2 separate regions of the Homo sapiens genome follow, and region 2 is linked to region 1. The links are contacts of gene promoters, found by promoter capture Hi-C in human tissues and cell types (Jung and others, 2019). All regions are on one chromosome and are shown on one strand. The core of a region is centred on a gene start or on the middle of the fragment in contact, and the rest is flanking DNA. Distances in the headings are between cores, read along the strand shown. Region 1 holds the start of CHIC1 (cysteine rich hydrophobic domain 1). Region 2 holds the start of MIR545 (microRNA 545).

Evidence for each region. The method cuts DNA at HindIII sites, captures the fragments that hold promoters and counts their contacts. A contact is called where the count stands out against the background at its distance.
Region 2: a contact is called between a fragment that was not itself captured here and the fragment with the promoter of CHIC1 in region 1, in 1 of the 25 tissues and cell types used here (hippocampus).

Annotation. Positions count from the first base shown.
Region 1 is chrX:73,559,465-73,566,149 of GRCh38, reverse strand. CHIC1 (cysteine rich hydrophobic domain 1) reads right to left here and starts at 2,953. Exons shown (of 6, transcript NM_001039840.4): 1 at 2,570-2,953. The coding sequence starts at 2,865. It also overlaps the pseudogene MAP2K4P1. RefSeq lists a silencer at 2,974-3,033. The HindIII fragment of the contact is 8,688 bases long and covers 586-6,685 here.
Region 2 is chrX:74,284,923-74,291,284 of GRCh38, reverse strand. All of the region lies in intron 1 of FTX (FTX transcript, XIST regulator), which reads left to right. MIR545 (microRNA 545) reads left to right here and starts at 4,076; the gene lies at 4,076-4,181. MIR374A (microRNA 374a) reads left to right here and starts at 3,928; the gene lies at 3,928-3,999. It overlaps LOC124905199 (a long non-coding RNA gene), which reads left to right. Exons shown (of 2, transcript XR_007068266.1): 2 at 855-3,420. RefSeq lists an enhancer at 39-830. The HindIII fragment of the contact is 4,959 bases long and covers 799-5,757 here.

The sequences.
Region 1 (6,685 bases), core at 1,704-4,203:
TTTCAGAAACTATGATGATATAATTCTGGGGCAGACTGACACAGGGCAATTCAAGGAGAAGGAAGAGTCAAAATGACTCAAAGGTTTTGAATGTTACCCTGGGAGATCAGAATGGTGGCATCAAGGAAAGAAATGAAACAAATGAAAAGCACGGGCAATGTGGAGAGGATGTTGAGCTTAAAATATACTGAGTTTGAGGTGAGGGCTCTCAAATTTTAAACTTTGAGAAGAAACAAAATGCTCTATACAACAGAAGGCTGCACAAAGAATGGAAAAAAATCAGGGCTGGTAGAGAATATTAAATATTTCATTCAGATAGGGTATATAGTTTAAGGCAACTCTAACACTCCTATGCCAGAAAAAAAATAAACAGAAGTTGATATTTTAGAAGTCGCAGAATAAGATTACCTACTTCATAAGGATATTACTTTAACTGATAAAAGGAAGGCTTCACTACCATACAAAGACCCATTTCTCAGATCCAGTTAAATTTTCTCCAAGACATGTAATCTCTTTCAAATCCCAAGACATTTAATATCATATGTGATTTCTAGGTATAAGAATGTGTACAACAAAACTAAATAAGTTTCCAAAGTATATACAATGGTTAGTGAGTCTAGTACTGGTTTGCTTCTTTTCAGGTTTTGGTTTCAGTCAATGAATACCAACAGTACTACCCGCATGCTCCTAATTAGAAGGACATTATACCAATCAGAAGGGCCTGGGCATGGCAAGTGTCAGTGTTCTTCTAATGAAGCAAATAGGTTGGTAAGTACCTGTGCAGGGTCGAATGGAACCATAAATAAATTTCAGGTAACTTAAATTTTATTTTCTTGTTCCTTCTCCTTTGCCTGAATTTTGCAAATGTGGAGGTGGAATGTTGGAGTATAAAATTATGGACTAAACGGTCATGTAACATAATCTGCATAAAAGTAACCTTTGGTACCAGCCATCATAATTAGTTTGAGTAATAAATTGTCTCCCTAGTGACAAAAGGAATGGAAGTAAAACCGTGCAATAAGTTGGCATCTGAATATTGTAGGCTATCTGCAAAATTCTTGGACCAAGAAAAATTGTCTTAAAATTTCCTAATCAAAAAGCAGCTCTAAAACCCTCCCCCAACACTTCCCCAATTTCAAAATATTTGTTAATATATTTGATGCAAAGATTACGAAAGTATATTACAATTAAAATACTCAACATATCACGCCTGTAGTCCCAGCTACTCAGGAGGCTGAGGCAGGAGAATTGCTTGAACCTGGGAGGCAGAGGCTGCAGTGAGCCAAGATTGCGCCACTGCACTCCAGCCTGGGCAAAAGAGTGAGACTCTGTCTCAAAAAAAAAAAAAAAAAAAAAAACTCAACATGTTAAAAATTGAAGCTAATATAAGGGAGGTAGCATATATATGATTTAATGTAACATGAACTCAATTGAAAGTCAAAGGGACTAGGTGAGCCATTATCAAAACCAGAGGCAGCATGACATAACAACAAAAGGCAACCTATTTTGAAAATGCAGTAAAAGATAGCATAGTTCAGAGGATGAACATGACACAGTACTCAAACTTCCAAATAGTTATGGTCCAAGCAAATAAAAATGAGGAAGCACTCTTTAAATCCCGGAGAATCATCAACATTTTTGCCTTGTAGCTGTTATGAAGTCCCTCCCCATTTTATTTTCTGAAATATTCAATTTTTCCTCAAGATTTCAATTTTTTAAAAAACCACCCTGGATAAATTTTAAAGAAATTATGCTCAGCTCCCAAAGTATTAATTTCCATATATATTTAATGCCTGTATATTTCATACTTGGGCATACAAAATCCCTTGGAGGTAAATTATCTCAGAACTGAAAAGCTTTAGAAACCATCTACTCCAAACCCTTCATTTTAGAGATGAAGAAATCAAGGCGCAGAAATGAGAAAAAGCAACCTGACCAAGGTCACAGGGCCAGTAAGAAGCAAAACCGGGACCAGCGTCTAAGAGCCCTGACTCAATCCATTTCTTTTTCTACTTTCCATAGCTGCCTCTCATCCTGAACCTCTAATCGAGTGATATATAAGGAAGGATTCGATAGGAAGAATGGATGGATGAATACGTGGGTGAATGAACATTCTATTATTATTCACAAAATATATCATGTTTCTGTTTTGAAGAATGCAAGCCTAGTTCTTGTCACATGTCACAGCAATTGCTGTTTCCCACAAAGTATCAATCTTGTCAGCAAAAAACCCTCTGGTACATCCTGCAGTTTAGAGACTGTTCACTTGCCAGCATACATACAAGAAAGGAGACTCACCCCTACTCCAATCGCTCTGGCTCCCAAACCCCTAACTTCCCTCTCCTATACTCACTCTTTACCTGGCATTGGTGCATCATATTTACATTCTCCTCACTTCCTTCACACGTATCCACCCATGGTTTCCCCATTTAGACCAGGTGTCCTTTCCTAAGTGTACGCCTCAGTCAATCAGTCAACCCTCCCCCACTCCACAGGCCCCTCGATCACTTCTCATTCCTCTGTTGCCAAATCTCAGGCATTTCAAGTCCCAAGACCCCCTCTCGCTTACACAGTGATGTGGCCGGCACCCCGCACTAATACAGGGTCGGGAGCATATCTCCGCAGATGCTCCTCGCTCACTACCCGAGGCGGGGGCGGCGCTTCCTCCTCCTCTTCCTCCTCCTCCTCTTCTTCCTCCTCCTCCTCTTCCTCCTCTTCCTCCTCATCCTCCTCGTCATCGTCGGGCCCAGATACCGACGACGACGACGACGGCGACGACGACGACGTTGCCGCTTCTTCTTCCTCCTCCTCCTCCAGTTCCGAGATGGTGTCGAACTCCGCCATGTTGGGCAGCAGGATGCTCATCACGTGACCTCGCGATCGCCGCCACGCTCCCGGAGAAGAGTTTGAACCTGCCGAGGTGCTGCAAGAGGAGGGGGAACGAAATGAAGAGAAAGAGGAGGGGTGTAGGGACAGGATTTGAGGAGACGCGCCTGCGTGTTGGGCAGACGGGGGGGTGGGGGGGCGGCTGCTGGAGGCGGGGGCACTAGAGAGGAGCAAAGTCAGTGTACGCTTGCGCAGCTCCAAGGGGAGGGGGCCGCTAGAGGTGAACTCCAAGGAGTTATCCAGGTCCGGTCTGCGGGTGCTCGCCTTAATACTGCTCTCTGAGCGTCAGCTACTTGTATTCGGGGTATCTTCTGATTTTATTGCTTATTAATTAATGCTGGGCATTATTAACCCAACTGCAGGCGGGTGAGAGAAAGCATATTGTATAAAAGTAAGGTTAGAACTTTGTCCAAAATATCTCAAGGTATATACCAATCCCTTACGTTTGTTCAGCATTACAGTTTAAAAGCCTTGCGTCATAACTTTGCCACAATCTTGGGAGGCAGGGTAAGCACTTTTATTAGCATTTTACTTAAGAGGAAACTTTTTACTACTTCTCCTATGTAATACTTAACGGAGGACTTATTAACTCAGGGACTGTGCTAAGTGCTCTGTATGTATATCTCATTTAATCCTCTGCAACCCTATGAGGTATGTATCATGATGATTTTATATTACAGATGGGAAATCTAGGTGCAGAGAAAATAAGTAATTTGTCCAGTGTCAGGGAGCTACTAAATGGGAGACCTGGTTTTAAATTTGGTGGTCTCTTCTGATTCCAGAAGCCCAGTACTCTTAACCAAAGGGCTGTACTGCCTGAAGTTGTTTGGAAAGATTTTGTAGAATGGTGCCTCTTGGGCTCTTCCTTAAAAGATGAATCAGAATATGCATGTTTGAATTTTGGAGTGTTTTTTGGGGGAGGGGGCGGATGGAGGGGGTGAAAGGAGCATTCCAACCTAAGGAAACCTTAATTAACATCATCCATTTTCCAGACACTGAGCTAGACCCTCACATACAATATTTCAGTTAACCCTTAATCCTGAGAGGTAAGTATCATTATATCTATTTTATTACATGACAAAAGTGGGTCTCAGAAGTTTAAGTAATTTATTCAAGTCTATGGTGACCTTTTGTTCAAAATTTTCCATTTTAAATGGTCTATCCTATCTTCTTTACACTCACTAAAATGTTGTGGGGATCACATATTTTGCGTATCTAAATAGTGTGCCAAACTGTTTCATACTTGGCAGCAGCACAAAAATCCATATCATTAAGACAGTAAAGTCACACAGCTGCTAAGTAACAGAACAAACACTGTAATCCAGGCATTCTAATACCAGCTTCACTGCTCTTTCTGCTACTCTACGGCTGCATCCCAATCAGATGGTGTGTCTCTGGGGAAACAGACATAGTCAAACTTTAATTTAGGATGAGCACGACATTATCAGTATAAACAAAGCATTTAATGTGTGTGAAGTAGGAAGAAATTAGTTCTGTAAGAGAAATGAATCAAACCATTATCATCAAGGAGTATGTGTTATTAAAATGAAAAGCCCATTTTTATTCAAAAGTTGGTTTATTTAGGGAACTTTAAAAATAAGTCGGAGATCGAGACCATCCTGGCTAACAAGGTGAAACCCCGTCTCTACTAAAAATACAAAAAAAATTAGCCGGGCGCGGTGGCGGGCGCCTGTAGTCCCAGCTACTCGGGAGGCTGAGGCAGGAGAATGGCGTGAACCCGGGAAGCGGAGCTTGCAGTGAGCCGAGATTGCGCCACTGCAGTCCGCAGTCCCGCCTGGGCGACAGAGCGAGACTCCGTCTCAAAAAAAAAAAAAAAAAAGTCATAACATTATCAATAAGCAACAAATTATAACTTTTTGTAGTTTAGATAACTGTATCTACTAGCCAGGAATTATAGAAGATAGAACCTTAAAATATTTTGTATAGCCTTCTGGCAAGACATATATATCTTTGCTTTTTTGGGGTGTTAATAAATGTGTCAGAGTTAAGATCAAAATTAATACTTTGCAACAGTTCTTCTCTTTCAAGAGGCAAAAAAAAAAAACTGTAAATGACATTTAAAATTTTTCCAAATATCTTATCCACGAAGGTCCACTAAGTCTGTGTCTAGAGGGAAAAGTATTTCACTGACTACTGCTTAAATGGTAGTTTCTCCTCACACTCAAGATTAGGCTAGGAAAGGCTATTTGAAGTACAGGAAGGGAAAGGAGTAGGGGGTGGACTTTGTAATGAGTGCAAGTAAGATATTGGAACTATGGTAAAAGTGGAGAAATTATGGCCTTGAAGAATGAGAAGGAAGGAAAGGGATGGGGAAAATCTGTTAAAATAGAAAGAGGCCCCTCATGTTTAGTCAGATGTCAAAAAGACCAAACATTCAGGGAAGTGCTATACTTGGCTAAACACACAAGTGTAGTCAAATCTGTCCATCTGTTTTCTGGCTTATATGTTGTGATTAAAAGTCATATGTGATTCCAAAGGTAATTTGTTTTGCTTAAATATAGGAGAATTTGGAATTAAGCAAGCTGAAGAAAAATACATTTTGTTTATCTATTGTCAGTAAACACGAGTAACACCATGGTTTCTAAATGATACCTTAGTATTAAGAATAGTAAATCGAGGAGTAGATGGAGAAGAAAGCAGGTCATGTAACATTATGCCTAACTTGCTAAGTGGGGTATGGGGGTATTTCTCCCATATAATTAATAGAGACCTGAGGCATGAGATCATTAACCATCTGAGAGGGTTTCAACCTTAAACAGCTGAAAAGAATTGTAACCTTTTAAAGACAGCTTTATTTTATTTATTTATTAAAGCATTCAATTTATTGATTTTAGTCACAGTTGTGCAACTGTCACTACAAACTAAAACATTTACATCATCCCCAAAAGAAATCTCTGTCCCATTTTTCAGCCATTCCCCATTCATCCCCAACACTTGGTAAGCATTAATCTACCTTCTTTTCTACAGATTTGTTTAATGGACATTTAAATAAATGGGATCATACACTGTGTGCTCTTTGTGTCTAGCTTCTTTCACGTAGCATATAATGTTTTTGTGGTTCATCAATGTTGTTTCATGTATCAGTACTTTATTCCTTTTAATTGATGAATAACATTCCATTGTTGGGATAAATTGCATTTTGTTTATCCACTTACCAGTTGATGACATATGGGTTGCTGCCACATTTTGAATGTTATGAAAATGCCGCTACGAACATTTACACACATGCTTCTGTTTGAACATAGGTTTTAATTTCTCTTGGATAGATAACCTATGAGTGGAATTCCTGAGTCATATGCTAAGATGATGTTGAACTTATTAAGAAACTGCCAAGCTATTTTTCCAAAGAGACTTCATCAATTTACATTCCCACAAGCAATGCAGGAGAGCTTCACTTTTTTCACATCCTCTCCAACACTTGTTATTGTCTTTTTTATTATAACTATTCTTATGGGTGTGCATCATGGTTTTACTTTGCATTTCCCTAATGACTAGCGATGAACATCTTTTCATGTACCTGTTGTCTGTTTGTATAGCTTCTGTGATGAAATGTCTACCCAAATCTTTAGCCCCATTTTAAAATAAAGCTCTTTTTGAAATACTTGTAGATTCATATGTAGGTGTAAAAAATAATACAGAGAGATCCTGTTTACACTTTACTTAGTATCCCCCAATAGCAACATCTTGCATAACTATTGTTATGCAGATTTAACAACCGCAAAATTGACATTGATACAATCCATCTGTTTTATTCAGATTTTCCATCATAGATGTACTC
Region 2 (6,362 bases), core at 2,029-4,528, 720 kb before region 1:
GGGGTTTTGCCATGTTGGCCAGGCTGGTCTCGAACTCCCGGCCTCATGTGATCCGCCCGCCTTGGCCTCCCAAAGTGCTGGGATTACAAGCGTGAGCCACCACGCCCGGCTGCTGGGCCTATTTCTCTATCTGTAATAATGATTAAACGTCAATAGCACTTACTACGTTCGAGGTTCTGGTCTGCGTGCTTTTACATAGGCCGTAACTCATTTGGTACTCTCGACAATCTTACGAAACACAGTACTGTTATTAAGTTTATACAAATGAGAAATTTGAGGGACACGAGACTAATTTGTTCAAGGCTTTACAGCCAGTTGAATGGCTGAGACTGGGTTTTTATCCAGGTGGGATGGCTCCAGAAGCATGTGCTTTTAAGCATTATGCTTTATTCCCTAAAAAGAGGGGGCGAATTTAAAGGAACCTTCTTTTATGATTTCAAAATTTGTTTGTAACTAACCAAAACCATTTGAGAAAGAAGACCTGTTTTCTGTTTCTGACTGTGCAGACTACAGGGTTACATACCTAGGAGACAAAAGATAAAGAATTGTTGATTTGGTGCCTAGTGGGGTGGCTATCCTTAACTACCCTTGTTTTCTGTGCTTTTTGTTCTGCAGAGGGTCTAAAATGGCCGACTGCGGCAGGCTGGACACACCCTTCTTGTTTTGCCTGATTTTCTGTCTGATCTAATGCTTTGAGACATCTAACCAGTCATTTACTGCAGTAGTTTTTTTTTTAACCCATTATTAGTATTTCGTGTTGATCTAAATATACAATAGTGATGGAAAGGTTATTGTCTTTTTTCTTGTAATAAAAGACTGAAAATACATTTGTTTTATTTTTATTATTTGCTTAGGATACATTCGTGGAAGTGGAGTTAGTACATCAAAGGGTATGAACATTTTAAACTCTCAGTATCTATTGCCAAATTTCTTCCTAAAAAGGTTGTATCAATTTTTACTCATACAAGCGCTGAATGTTGTTGTTTTTTAATTTTTAATGGATAAAAACCAGTATTAATTTTTCGTTTGCCTATTAGTTTGGATTTTCTTCCTCCATATATATCTCAGCAGTTTTCTTTCATGTAATGATAGTTCATATCTTATGTTGATTTATGCGTTGAAGTTTTAGTTTACTGTTTATTATTATCTGTTTGTGTTCTGTAAATAAAGATTAGTATTCAGACTTTTGTAATGTTATAAATACCTACTCCATGTTATTGTTTGCCTCTTAATTTTTGTCTTTAAATTTTTGGCTAGTAGAGATTTGAAATTATTTGACAAATTTATCTTCTATTTTGTGATTTTTATTCTATTGTTTAAATTTGAATAGCTCCCTCAGTCTAGAAATTTGGTAAATATTGTAACTTTGCCTGAGGGTAACTATCAAGCATGGGAGAAAAAACATCCATGATTTTACCACCCAGAGATAACTATTGTTAATACATTTATTCACTTCATTCTCTGCATTTTTCTTTGCAGTTGATAATATATGTGTACTATTTTATATTGTGTTTTGTTTTTAACATTATAACATGCGCATGTCCATGTTAAACATTCTTTGTAATTGTCATTGTTTCATGATGTTCTGTTGTATGGAAGTATTTTACAGATTTTCAGTATTTTAAATTATGTAATGAATATCTTTTCATTTGGTTTTTATTATTTATTTTGGGTTGTTTATCGAAGAGACTTCTAGAATTAGTTATTTGTCAAAAGATTTGAACATTATAAAGAATTGGCATATTTACTTTTCAAAAAATTAATGTCAGTTTTTGTACCCAGTCATTTAGGTACTTATAAAAAATGTTTTTGCTTTTTTTTTTTTTGCTGACTCCATATGTAAATGAATGAATGATATCTCTGTGGGGTTTTTTTGTTTTTGTTTTTTTCTGAGACAGGCTCTCCCCCTGTCGCCTAGGCTGGAGTACAGTGGCGTGATCATGGCTCACTGAAGCCTCAACTTCCAGGGCTCCAGAGATCCTCCTACCTCAGCCTCCTGAGTAGCGGGAGTACAGGTGTGTGCCACCATGTCCAGCTAATTTTTAAATTTTTTTGTAGAGATGGAGTTTTGCCATGTTGCTCAGGCTTGTCTTGAACTCCTGGGCTCAAGTGATTTTCCCACCCCGGCTTCCCAAAATGCTGGGATTACAGGGGTGAGCCACCATACCTGGCCGATATCTTTGTTTTGTGATACAGTTCTCTGATTATTAGTGAGGCTGGACTTTTAGATCTTAATTACTAGCTCTTATTTCCTTTTGTGAATTATTCAATTTGTGCCTGAATGTTATTTGTAAGTTGCAAATGTCGTTTGTTGCAGATATGCTCCCAGTAATATTTGTTGCCATTGAGTCTGAAGAAATGTTTGCAATTCCAAATATAACTGCTGTGTGGATACATGTCTGGTTCTTGGTAGCCATTTTGAGATAACATTTGTCTGACCTCTATCTTATTTTTGTTTTTATTTTTAGAGTGGAGGTCTTGCCCAGGCTGGTCTCGAACTCCTGGGCTCAAGCAATCTTTCTGCCTCCGCCTCCCAAAGTGCTGGGATTACAGGCATAAGCCACCTTACCCAGCCTTGTCTGACCTTTAAACAGAAATCCATTTCTTTTTATCTAAAAGGAAAGCACTTTTGAGTACTGTACAACAGTGGTGCTTCCTGGCTCTGGGCATGGGGAGAAGACAGGGCAACATTTTGTCCCTAATGAGAAACTAATTTAGACAAGAAACAAAACAGCGGTCCCTTCTCCCCCATCCATTCAGGGACTGGTCTTATTTTAAATATTTCTGAGTGGTCTGAGGGAGGATATGGGCAATATTGAAGTGTCCACATTTATACATACTGTTAAATGCTTTGGGGATGTGAAATGCTAATAGGAACACGCTAGCATGTGAGAAGGCACCAGGAGTGGGCTAATTGGCAGAAAGGAACAGTGTATAGGCAAGAGCAGTGAAATAACTTTAGGGGAAAATAGTATGTTAAGCTTATTAAATAACAGCCTCATAGAGACATTGGGTCCCAAAACAGTGATCTCAGTATAACTGTCAACAACTTGCTGATGTTATCAGCCCTATTTGCTGGTCAGAGACAAAAAAGCCAGTAAAAACCTAGGTATTATTAAGAAAGGTATGAGGCACAGAAAAATGCCATCTTATCTTTGTATAAAACCATCTGAACCAAATAACTATTACAGTAATAATCTTGCCTCAAGGAGTCTGTTACTATCACTCACATGATTTTGAAAAGGGAGTGGGCAGAGTGTGTTATCTCTCTGTTTCATTTTTCTTGTTTATAATACATAGGTGAATTAGATATTCTCAAAGGTCTTGGAGGGGTCTAATTCTGGTTTCCTGAAACTGAATGTTATTTCTAGTTTAGAGAATCTGTTTAATTATGTTTATTAAATAAACTTTTCTAACTTATTCCTACTCTGATCTGTATATTATCTATTTTGTATTTAATAACATTCTAACTTTTTTTTTCCAGTGAAGGATGAGGATTATTGGATTTAGAAGTGCCAAATGAGCTATTACTTACTGCTTTTTGCTATCCGGTTACACTGGGTTAATCCAGTTAGTTGTAAGCTCCCATTTTTCAGCATTTTGCTAGCTGTAGATATTAAACCAGGCTCATGTGGGTAGTAGGGTGGGGAGGTTAAGAGGAGTATAAGCAAAAAGGAAAAAAAAAAGCTCATATTTTAGAGGAGGGGATTGAGAAGTTCCTTTATTGGAAGTCTGTGCATGGAAGTCCCATTTTACATCATGCCAGTGTCTAGTTCCCAATTCCGTCTATGGCCACGGGTTAGGGAAAGCCTGAATATTTGAAATAACCGAAAAGCATTTAACCTTTGATTTCTATAATTTGTTCCTCACCTCTCTTGATGTTACAGCCAGCAGCAGCCTGGAGCAGCACCCCCTGGGAAGAAATTTTACATCGGCCATTATAATACAACCTGATAAGTGTTATAGCACTTATCAGATTGTATTGTAATTGTCTGTGTATATGCCTGTCTCTCTTCCTGTTATCAGTTAGACTGTGAGCTCCTTGAGGGCAAGGAAGGTGTCTTCATCTCCAGAGCCCAGCCTGGCACATTAGTAGGCCTCAGTAAATGTTTATTAGATGAATAAATGAATGACTCATCAGCAAACATTTATTGTGTGCCTGCTAAAGTGAGCTCCACAGGCTCTGGATTGTCAGCTGTTTCTTCAAAAAGCATGTGGTCAGAAATTTGATATTTCTGTATATATCTTCCTAAGAGTTTCTCATGAGACAATGCCATTTTTGTGTTTGGATTTCAGTCCTTGATATTTACAGATGTTGCAACTGTTGCTATTGCTGACACTTGCTTTCTTGGTGGGACTTGAGTGATAACTGTTAGATTGGGGCCTCATCCTCAGGGCCCAGGTAATCATCCAAATAGTATTCTTAGATAGGACTTTGCATTTTTCTTTCTTTTTTTTTTTTTTTTAAGGGACAGGTTCTCACTCTGTTGCCCAGGCTGGAGTGCAATGGTGCGAACACGGGTCACTGCAGCCTCGAACTCCTAGGCTCAGGTGATCTTCCACCTCAGCATTCTGAGTTAGGACTATAGGTGTGTGCCACCACCCCTGGCTAATGTTTGTATTTTTCGTAGAGAAGGGGTCTCGTTATGGTGCCCAGGCTGTTCTTGAACTCCTGGACTCAAGCGATCTACCTCCCTCAGCCTCCCAGAGTGCTGGGATTACAGGTGTGAGCCACTGCACCCAACCAGACTCCATATTCTAAACCAAGGGTGGGCAAACTTTATTGCCCATGGGCTACCTGTTTTTGTAAATACCATTCTATATTGGAACACAGCCATGTTCATTCATCGATGTTTTACCTGGGGCCGCTTTTGCGGCCCAGTGGCACAATTAAGTAGCTATTAGGTTGGTGCAAAAGTAGTTGCTGTTTTTGCCATTAAATATATTGGAGACATTGTGGCCCACAAAGCCTTTGTAGAAAAAGATCTGTGCCCACTCTGGATCATCACTCGACAGTGATGGTTTCATTTCTCATTCCATTCACCAGACCAGAAATTCATATTTATTTACTTCATTTGTCATTGCTTGTGACAAGTCTTTTTCCTCTTTTACAGATAAGCCAGCTAAGACATGTTTTAAAGTAGAAGATTATAAGACCTCCCCCAGGGTCCTGCAGTCAGTCAGTTATACCCTGCCCTTCAACATCAAGCTTTGAACCTCTACTCTAGAAATACCTTTTATTATATTCAAACTTGAAGCACGTGGACATAGCATGCTTTGGTGCCTTCGTCCTTGCCCCCCTCCTTCCTACACAGTTCTTTGCAATGAGAATATGGGAAATAAGGACTTAATGTGAGATAAGGCAGAAAGGTAAGCTGAGGCAAATGTTTAGAGGGTCCCTAACACTAATTTTTAAATGAAGAAGTGGGGTGTCTGAAATACTCATTTATTTAGATGTATACAGATAGTGAGCCTAGACTTCCAAGAGCTTAGAGCCCCTCCCCTTGTGCCTCCCCAACTTTACATGTACTATCTTGGTAACCTGCCTATGAATACATGTTGATTCATTTCACTTCATTAAAAAGTCGGAGAGCTCAAAGTCATATTTGAGAAAGCTAAATCTAAAACAAAATGGAGGAAACACTGAATAGGTTCATCTCGTTGGATAGGATCATCCTAGGAATAAAATATAATAGAAGGAAAGGTCTTACAGCCATATTTTTAAAGCTGCTTGCTGGATTTTTCCCAAAATTGTATTGTGAAAGTTGTCAAACATACATACAGAAAAGTTGAAAGAATTGTACGGTGAAAAGCCATGTACCCAACACCTAGATTTTATAATTAACATTTAACTATACAGTCATGTGTTGCTTAAAGACAGGATATGTTCTGAGTAATGGATCATTAAGTCATTTTGTTGTTGTGTGAACATCATAGGGGAGTGTACTTATACAAACCTAGATGGTATAGCTTACTACACACCTAGGCTATATGGTATAGCCTATTCCTCCTAGGCTACAAACCTGTACAGCATGTTGCTGTATTGAATACTGTAGGCATTTGGAATACAGTGGTAAGTATTTGTATATCCAAACATATCTAACATAGAAAAGGTACAGTAAAAACGTGGTGTTATTATCTTATGGGACCACCATTGTATATGCGCCTGTGACTGAAATGTTACTATAAGATTCAGGACTGTTTGTGTTATCACAGTAACTCATCTTTGTTGAATAGGTTTTAAAAATCTGTCTGTCTTCTGTGTTAATGTCATCTGTATCTGACCCATCATGGTGCTGAAAAAGCTTCTTTTCATTCTTATTTTTGTCTTCTAAGTCAGCATGAATACCAGCACAGCCCAA